3 separate regions of the Homo sapiens genome follow, and regions 1 and 2 are each linked to region 3. Evidence: promoter capture Hi-C in human tissues and cell types (Jung and others, 2019). All regions are on one chromosome and are shown on one strand. The core of a region is centred on a gene start or on the middle of the fragment in contact, and the rest is flanking DNA. Distances in the headings are between cores, read along the strand shown. Region 1 has its middle 180 kb from the start of LINC00670. Region 2 has its middle 160 kb from the start of MIR744. Region 3 holds the start of MYOCD (myocardin).

What was found. Contacts are between HindIII fragments. The study calls those that stand out against the background at their distance.
Region 1: a contact is called between a fragment that was not itself captured here and the fragment with the promoter of MYOCD in region 3, in 1 of the 25 tissues and cell types used here (dorsolateral prefrontal cortex).
Region 2: a fragment that was not itself captured here is called in contact with the fragment with the promoter of MYOCD in region 3 in 2 of the 25 tissues and cell types used here (H1 embryonic stem cells and heart left ventricle).

The regions. Positions count from the first base shown.
Region 1 is chr17:12,372,787-12,375,810 of GRCh38, forward strand. No RefSeq gene overlaps it. Among named protein-coding and RNA genes, the nearest start is that of LINC00670, 180 kb to the right of the region's middle. The HindIII fragment of the contact is 4,594 bases long and covers 1-3,024 here.
Region 2 is chr17:12,238,040-12,241,070 of GRCh38, forward strand. No RefSeq gene overlaps it. Among named protein-coding and RNA genes, the nearest start is that of MIR744, 160 kb to the left of the region's middle. The HindIII fragment of the contact is 6,907 bases long and covers 1-3,031 here.
Region 3 is chr17:12,664,271-12,667,263 of GRCh38, forward strand. MYOCD (myocardin) reads left to right here and starts at 1,620. Exons shown (of 14, transcript NM_001146312.3): 1 at 1,620-1,973. The coding sequence starts at 1,919. The HindIII fragment of the contact is 11,548 bases long and covers 1-2,993 here.

The DNA.
Region 1 (3,024 bases), core at 384-2,883, 290 kb before region 3:
TTTGTTCTCACAAATTGATGTGAATGGTTTGCTGCTGCTTTCTTCATCTTCATAATTGTCTTGTCTCTTCTTATAGCAAGCTCTTCTACGTAAACTGCTGTTTTCTTTGGGGCATTGTCCCCGTAAACTTTTCATAAAGAATCAACTATTTTTCATTATTCTTCTACAAAAGCTTTACCATAAATTTGATTTTGTTCTTGCCTCAATTTTAGCAGAATTCATGTTGTTCTGATAAGGACTTTTCAAATTGATGTCATATTCATCTTAGTGCCTCACAGTGGATCTTATTCAGACATGTTATAACAAGTTAGTATGAGTTTATCGTGGTGCAAAAAAATTTTGAAATCCATGCAAAGTTTTTTCATAATATGCATTTTCATGAACTTCTAAAAGACCCCTCACAGCATTTTATAATTTACAATTAAAGTAAGTTTCCTTTATTAATAGTTTTTATTTCTATTTTTATTAGTTATCGTGTGAATTTGTGATTGCCTTATGACTGTTGAGAAAAAAAGTGCGGTGCATTTAATTATTGTATTTCTTCGTATTAAATCATTTATGTCCTTTAGCTAAATCTTGTTAAGAGCATTCTTTTAATTTTCTGATGAATTCTTTTTCTGAGTATTTGATTGAGGATTTTTTAAACTTCATACATTAGAATGGCCTATAATTTCTCTTTTCTGCTACAATAATTAGTTTTTTTTAAATTTAAATAATGGATCAGGACCCTGAAATGTTTATATAGTCTTAAATATTTTTGGTCTTTAGTACATTGGCTCTCTTCTTGACACATTTTTAGCCCTGAATCTTGTTAGATGGTAAATTCTTTGAACATCTTTTCAACATCTTTTCAGTTCCTTCTAATCTATTCAGGTTTACAGGGCTTTGGGGAGAAACATTCTAGTGATTTCACAGTTTTCAAATCATGATGAATTTCATCAGTTAGAAATCGTATGGATTGATTGGAATGTGATATTTACTTACCCTCTGCATTTGTTACTATGTTCCATGTCTTGATTTTAATTTTACTTTCTTTAGTTTTGCTTTTTTCCCTGATTGCATTTGCTAGAAGTTTGCCTATTTTATTGTTTCTTCTTACCCCCAAATCAAACTTGTTGATTTATTTATTACTTTTCTTCTAGTTCTATTTTCAAATAAATTAGCTCTAATTCTTACCTGCACTAATAAAAGCATTTAGGGCTATTAATTTTCCTTTCAGGATAGCTTCTACAGCTATACATATTTTGGTATGATATATTCTTTTTTTTTTTTTTATCCAGCTAGCTTGTGTTTTCAATTTTGATTTCCTATTTCTTTGTTCCAAGAGTTATTTAGAAGTATGTTTCCTAATTTCCAACTATTAAAGGTTTTTTCCACTCATATTCTTTATTTCTAACTAAGTTTATTGGATTATATTCAGGTAATATAGCCTAAAAACACTCTGCCTCTTTGAATTTGTAAGCTTTATTTGTGGCCAATTATGTAATTGATTTCAGTAGAGGGTCTATGGACATGAGGGAAAACATATATGTCTTTATATATTCCTTAGTTCTTTTGTGCCCAAATAACTTTAGTTTTTATTTTTTATTTTTTTTTTTGGTATACCAGAACCATCTGATTCAGAAGGAAAAATCATTGGAACTGTTTCATGATAGTTGTTTTTTAAGCCAAAAATTATTTGAACCTCTAATAATATTGTATACTTAGGTGCTATATTTTTATAGGACATGCAGCTTTATGATTATTGTTTCTTCTTCATAAATTGTCTTTTATTATTACACAATGTTCCTCTGTATTTTGTTTAGTGCTTTTAACCTTAAGTTCCACCCTGTGTGATATTAATATTGTCACTCCTGCTTTCTTTTTGTTTGCATTTGCTTGACATCTCTCTGTTTATCCTTTTATTTTCAAAATTTCTTTTCCATTTTTAAGAATTCTCCTTATAAACAGCATATATCTGGGTTTTGTTTTTTAACTCAATATGACAGTCTTAGTTATTTAATGGGATAATTCATTCTATCCACATTTACTTTAACATATGATACTTAATTTTATTAGGCCCATCTTTATGTTTAATATTTATTTACTTTGTGATTCTCCTTTATTTAGTTTTATTTTGTAGCTGATTTTGTCATTCATTCTATTTTTTTCTTATCTTTTGAAAATACGACTGTATTTTTTTCATTCTGCTAGTGGCATTTCATGTTTGACTCTCCTAATCATGTATATTTTCCACTATTCTACAGAAGTACAAAACTCCCACCTTTCCCCATTAAGATGCTTTCTTACTGACCTACTTCCCCAATGCTAATTAGAATATTTTTATTTTCTCCCTCCACCCTGTCCTCTAACTCCTATGTTTTAAGACATAGTTTAGAACTTTAAATTTCAGGTCAATATTAGATTTTCTCTTATTGTTTGTCTGTTTTTCCCCAAGAATCTTTATTTAGTGCTTTCTAATATTATGGCAGGTTATGTTATTAGGACCAATTCTCCTGCTAAAACCTAAAATTTATGGAGAACATATTCATTAAAAATTATGCTTAACAGCATCAAAGAAATGACCAGGTTGTAAGAGATTAGGAGGCCACAGTCTAAAGGATCTGAGAGAAGTAAGCAGAGCCTTGAAGCAACGTTATCCTTGAGGGCATTTGGCAAATAGGTAAACATTCTTTGTAACTGAAGGGTATTCAAACTAGAAACAACAAACAAACTCAAAAGACTGCTCAAAGTGCACATCTAAGAGAAGATGCTTCTATCATAAAACGGGGATCCCTAAGAGTCAAACCCTTAAGGGAAAGTGAATTAGATGTAAATTTTCCATTCTAGTTCCAGGGGACTGCAGGGAAATGTTTGTTTGTTTGGCATTGAACAGAACAGGTGAAAACTATCCCTAGGAAGTTGTAATCACAATCTTTCCCTTGTGTGGATTTCCCAAACACATCCAGAACACCTGGTTGTCAGTTACAACTTGATTTGCTAATTCATTTAAAAATGGTCCAGAATTAGTTAGTAGTGCCCCCA
Region 2 (3,031 bases), core at 100-2,599, 430 kb before region 3:
GGGCGTGATGGTGGGCACCTGTAGTCCCAGCTACTCGGGAGGCTGAGGCAGGAGAATGGGGTGAACCCAGGAGGCAGAGCTTGCAGTGAGCCGAGATCGCGCCACTGCATTCCAACCTGGGCGACAGTGAGACTCCGTCTCAAAAAAAAACAAAACAAAAAAAAAAAAACTTGAGGATGAAAGAAAAATACTTCTCTACAGAAACAATAAAAATCGGTTGCAACATCTGGGCAGCTGTGATCCAGCAGAAAGAAACGAGTCCCAACCTGAATTAAAGGGAAAAAGAAACCATATGAATTTAATCCAGTCTCATCTAGAAAAGCTTCCCATTTAGGTCACTTGTATGTAACTCCAATTCCTTCTCCAAGAGCCCTTCCAGGAGAGGCGCAAGGTCCCCCCACACAGAGTGGAATGAGTGGAACTTGCGTCAGTAGCCCTTGGCTTAGGCATTCCTGGCATGGTGCAGGACTCTGAGCTGGGCACAGAAGGCGTCCACCTGGTTCTCGCTTTACAGAGCCCACTGCCTGATGCCCTCCCTCAGGCAGGAGCCTCCTTCAACACAGTGGTCCCTCCCAGAAGACTCCTTGGTAGTAACTGCTGTGGCCAGCAAGCACTACACACATTGAATGCCTCTGCATTTTTATTTTAAAGTCACTTTTTTCTTTTTTTCTGATACTTGCCTACATATACTGAATCAAAATGTGGGTTTCAGGCAGCAACCCAGCAACTAAGTAATTCTTAATGACTAAAGGTTGATAGTGAAAAATGAGTTGGCTCTGATTAATGAGATTAGCTAGCTGGTCATCTTAGAGAATAAAGGGGGTCATGTTGTGTCCAGAATTGGTGGGTTCTTGGTCTCGCTGACTAAAAGAATGAAGCCGCAGACCCTGGCAGTGAGTGCTACAGTTCTTAAAGATGGTGTGTCCGGAGTTTGTTCCTTCTGATGTTCCCACGTATCCGGAGTTTCTTCCTTCTGATGGGTTCTGATCTTGCTGACTTCGGGAATGAAGCTGCAGACCTTCGCTGTGTTACAGCTCATAAAGGTGGCGGGGACCCAGAGTGAACAACAGCAAGATTTACTGCGAAGAGTGAAAAAACAAAGCTTCCACAGGGAGGAAAGGAACCCCAGCGAGTTGTTGACCCTTGCTCTGTGGCCTGCTTTTATTCACTTATTTGGCCCCACCCACATCCTGCTGATTGGTCCATTTTACAGAGTGCTGATTGGTGCATTTAGAAACCTTTAGCTAGACACAAAGTGCTGATTGGTGCATTTACAATCCTTTAGCTAGACAGAAAAGTTCTTCTAGTCCCCACCCTATTAGCTAGACACAGAGCACTGATTGGTGCTTTTAGAAACCTTTAGCTGGACAGAAAAGTTCTCCAAGTCCCCAACCAACCCAGAAGCCCAGCTGGCTTCACCTCTCAATGTTAAAGAGAGCCTCTACTGCCAGGTATGTGCAAGGGAGAGAACAGATTGGAGATTATATCCAGATGACTGTATCAGAGGTGCCGGTGGGGTCAGGGGAGGAGTCCTGAAATTGGGCATGTTTTATTGAGGTGGTTTAAACAAGAGACTGGTTTTGATGTGAGGGTACCAGAAATCCTACACTTTTCATAGAATGGTTTTAGAATTTGCCTTGATGAAAATTTACAGAGGAAGAAAAAGATAAAAGAGAACACTCACTAGAAGTAGTTAGGGGTTGGGTCCCTAAATTGGAGTCTGATTTTGGTCTGATTTCCCGAAGTTTTCATTCTTTCATAGGGGAAACTCAAATACTACTCTTAATCTTCTTAACCTTAGGTGGAGTTCCATGCCTCCAGCTTATCAGCTTCCCCTGAAATCATGGACGGGAGTTTCTTAGAGTGTAGTCACACCTCACAGATCCTATAAGCATCTAGGCCACAGACTGTAAATTTTATTTTTTGCTTTACATCTCCCCTGTATCTATTGAGATTATCATAAACATTTTCCCCTTTAACTCTTTACTTATAGTTTTAATTTTGAAATAATTTTAGATTTACATAAAAATTGTAAAGATAGTTTAAAGAATTCCTGGATACCCCCCGCCCAATTTTGTATGTTACCGTGGTACATTTGTTAAAACTGAAAAACAGACATTGCTCCATTACTATTGAATTAACTCCAGACTTTATTTGGATTTCAACGTTTTTTCTATTAGTGTTTTCTTTCTATTCCAGGATCCAGTTCAGGATACCACATGATACTAATTCTGTGGTCTGTGAGTTTCTCAGTACTTTTTTTTGTTTTTAATGACCTTGAGAGTTTTGAAGAGTACTGGCTGGGCATCCCGTAGACTGTCCCCCAGTCTGAGTTTGTCTGTTGTATTTTTCTCCTAATTCGATCCGGGTTATGGATTTTTGGGAACGCAGCCATAGACGTGAAGCGCCCTTCTCATCACATTGTATCAGAGGGAACCTTGGTCACTTAGTGAAGGTAATGCTGGCAAGGCCTCTTCATTATAAAGTTACATTTTTGTCTTTTCTTCTCTATTCATTGGAATTGAGCCACTAGGTGATTTGTGATTTCTAGTTCCATCCTTTAGAATGACTTAGACATTTTTGTTTGTTTGTTTGCATGAAAGTTCCAAATAATTCACTGATAACACCATCTGGGCCTAAAGTCTTTTTGGAGGTAAAATTTTAAAAACCTTTTAAAAGAATTTTCATGATTTCTTCTGGGTGTGATGGCTCAAGCCTATAATCCCAGGGCTTTGGGAGGCCGGAGCAGGAGGATTGCTTCAGCCCAGGAATTAAGGCTGCAGTGAGCTATGATCATGCCACTGCACTCCAGCCTGGGTGACATAGCGAGACTCCGTCTCTTAAAAAAAAAAAAAAAAAAAAAAAAAAACAACAACCAACTTATAATTTCATGTCTATAAAGGTCTTCTACATCTTCTAAATGTCAGAGTTTTTGGTAATTAAAAAATATAATGATCAATTTCATTGTGATTTTGAAATTTAATAGATGGTGTTTTGCCTAGCATATTTTATTCTTGTATGTATATTTGGT
Region 3 (2,993 bases), core at 370-2,869:
TGAGGAAATCGATTTTCCCCTAGAGCCTCCAGAAACTAACGCAGCCCCGCTGACACCTTGATTTTGACCCCCTGAGACCCACTTTGGACTTCTGCCCTCCATAACAGCAAGATAATTAATGTGTGCTGTTTTAAGCCACTACATTCGTGGTAATTTGTTATAGCAGGAATGGGAAAATGATGTTACGTAATCGCTGAGATGCTCCTGCACACGAAATCAGCCTATAGACAGGCGCCCAGGCCAGGACTAGATCCCCAAAGGGAACATGGATGGATTGTTCTTCCTCGTCTCTGACACATCAGCAAGAAGGTGTCTATCCCTGAAGACCTTATTTACAAAATCGCCCCGCTCAGATCCAGAGAGTAAGCTCTAGGGCTAACCCCTCTAATGTGTTTTCAGCAACAGGGGATGGGGCAGAGGCCGGGACCAGGACATTAGAGGTTGTCCCCATGAGCTATTGTCACCTCGGGTCTCCATCTGTCACCGACTGATCTTTTAAGGACTCGTAGTATGCAGGCAGGCTTGTGTGTAATAGACGACACCCGGGGTCCACGTGCATATGAAGTTGCAAATAAGCCCTAATTATATACGTATACAGAGTGGTTTTTATGTTCTGAGCCACCAACTATTTAACGGGCTTCTTGAGAGATGGGTCTTTGTTTTATTTCATTGATCCATGTGCCTATAACACCTCGGCCAGATGCACAAATAACTCTGGGTCGGTTACGGAATGGATTTTCCCCTAAGGAGAGACTCATTCGCAGGCAAAGTTTTTGAGCCTTCCCAAGCTAAGCCCAGCCCGAGCTCTGACTTGCCCCCTGCTCCAGAGCCCCTCCCTATTTAGAGCCCAGTAGGTTTTTCACTCCAACTCAGGTATCTTTTCCCATTCCCTCGGGGTTGTGAGGTGGGAGCGTTGTGTCGCAGCTGGATCTCCAGATGCGCCGTGTCACATTTGTCCCCCCAAAAAGCATATCCTAGAAAATGAAAGCCTTTCCATTTCCCCGTGGAAATGCATCTAAGTCCAGTATTGGAGCTGCGAGATACAGAATCGTCTCTGCCAGTGCCCTGAGCCCCTCAAACCGAGGGGAATGCGTGGGCTTCGGTCCGTCGGAAGCTTTTCTTCTCAGGGGTCCAGCTTATTTCCAAATTGCCCCGCGTGAACTGTCCCGCGGGCGCGCACGCCCTTTCGCGCAGCCTTTGCAGCCGGCTGGCGGGAGATCCCGGCCGCTTCCCTTTCGCCGGCAGAAGCCCGGCCGGGGAAGCCCCGGCTGCGCACGCCCATCCCCAGGACCTCGGAGCTCCCAGCGGCTGCCGCAGCCCCGCGAACCACCTGCAAGCCCCGCGGCGTCGCAGCCCTTCCTTCTTTCCTCCGGGCATCCGCTCTTTAGCTCGCGCCCCTCTCCCAGATTCCCGACCCCTGGCCCTGCTCCCGCCCTCTGTGCCTCGGCGGCTGCGGGGCCCGCCGCAAAGAGTTAAGAGCCGGTTCCCGAGACGGCTTCGGCGGCTCCGGGTCCCCAGACCCCGCTCGCCGCTCCTGATTGGCTGAGCGCCTGTCAGTAGTAAAGGGTATCAGATGGCAAAGTTGGGACCTTCATAAAGGCGTGGTGGCGATTCTCCGCAATCGCCGGCAGCCTATGACATCAGACAGGAACGCCTGGGATGCCGCGCTGCTCCTGGCCAACCTCCGAGGAGGAGGAGGGTCCCGCCGGCTAAGAGTTAATTAGCCCCGCACGGCGAGGGGGGAGGCGCCAGTTTTCTGGGGACACTGGCTGCCACTGTACTCCTACCCAGGGGAGCTCACGGAGAGTTGGATGAATTCTGGGTTGTTAGCTGCGGTCAGCTGGGCTCCCGGGAGCCTGTTGCTGGTGGAGAACAGGGGGCGCCTGGCCAAGGGACCAGCGGCTTGCTGAGACTCAACATGACACTCCTGGGGTCTGAGCATTCCTTGCTGATTAGGAGCAAGTTCAGATCAGGTAGGGCTAAGGCATTTAGCATTCCTTCTTAAACTTTCCTCTTCTGCAATTCTCAACTCTAGAACTGCTTTCCAATAAATGTTTCAAAGCCTGCCAGGTCTACCTCAACTTTGTTCCCCAAAAGCACATTGTGGAAGCGAAGAGTTTTGTTTGACTTTGGGGGCCTTTCGTGTCTTCCGTTGTAAGTGCTTTGGGTGGTCGAGTGTGGTTGTTCATCTGTGAAAAGGCCAATCCTTTTATTTTATTTTCTCTGCATCTATGAATAGAAATTTTGGAGGGGTACATTCAGAGGGAGCAACTTTGGAAATGAACAAATAAGGGATTTCAAGTTTGGAAGCTGCGTAGTATCGGTTATAATCGCTGAGAAGATGAACCTGATGTTGTGTGTTAGGTACAGGGGTCACTTAAAATGTAGCTAATCCAAACAAATGTATTTCCCAAAAAAAGTCACTTGGGGGAAGTAAAAATAGCAAATTTGGAGCACACCAAGTATTTAAAATGACATCACTGTAGAAAAAAAAAGAAAGCCCAGTGCCACAAATATTTTTTCCCAAACCATCTGATATTTATAAATAGAGAATTTCCCCCAAAATTTCTGTGTTAGTGGCACATGGAGAAACTTCTCAAAGGACGCTGAGTGGAGGTGAGTGGAAGGGAGAGACGGGAGCTCTAACCGCTTCTCCAGAAGGGCTTGTACACGCGCCCATGGAAGGTGTCTGTGTGGGTCTCCACGTTTAGACAAAGCAACACTTGACTTCTGAAGTTATTTTTCAGTAGCTCTGTGTATAATGTTGGTTTTAGAAAACTGGTTAACAACACACTCAACAATGTAGGACTTCTACTTAGATTGATGACTTTTAGGAGAACTCTGATGTGAACATTAGACATAACAGGTGTCAGAAAGATGCTGGCATAGGTTGCTAAGCTAAAGTTTCCTTAGCCCTTCTACATGGGGCCAACTCAGTTGTTTCACTTGGGATGGATGGTTCAAAAAGGAAAAATGTAGATGCTGGGAGGTAA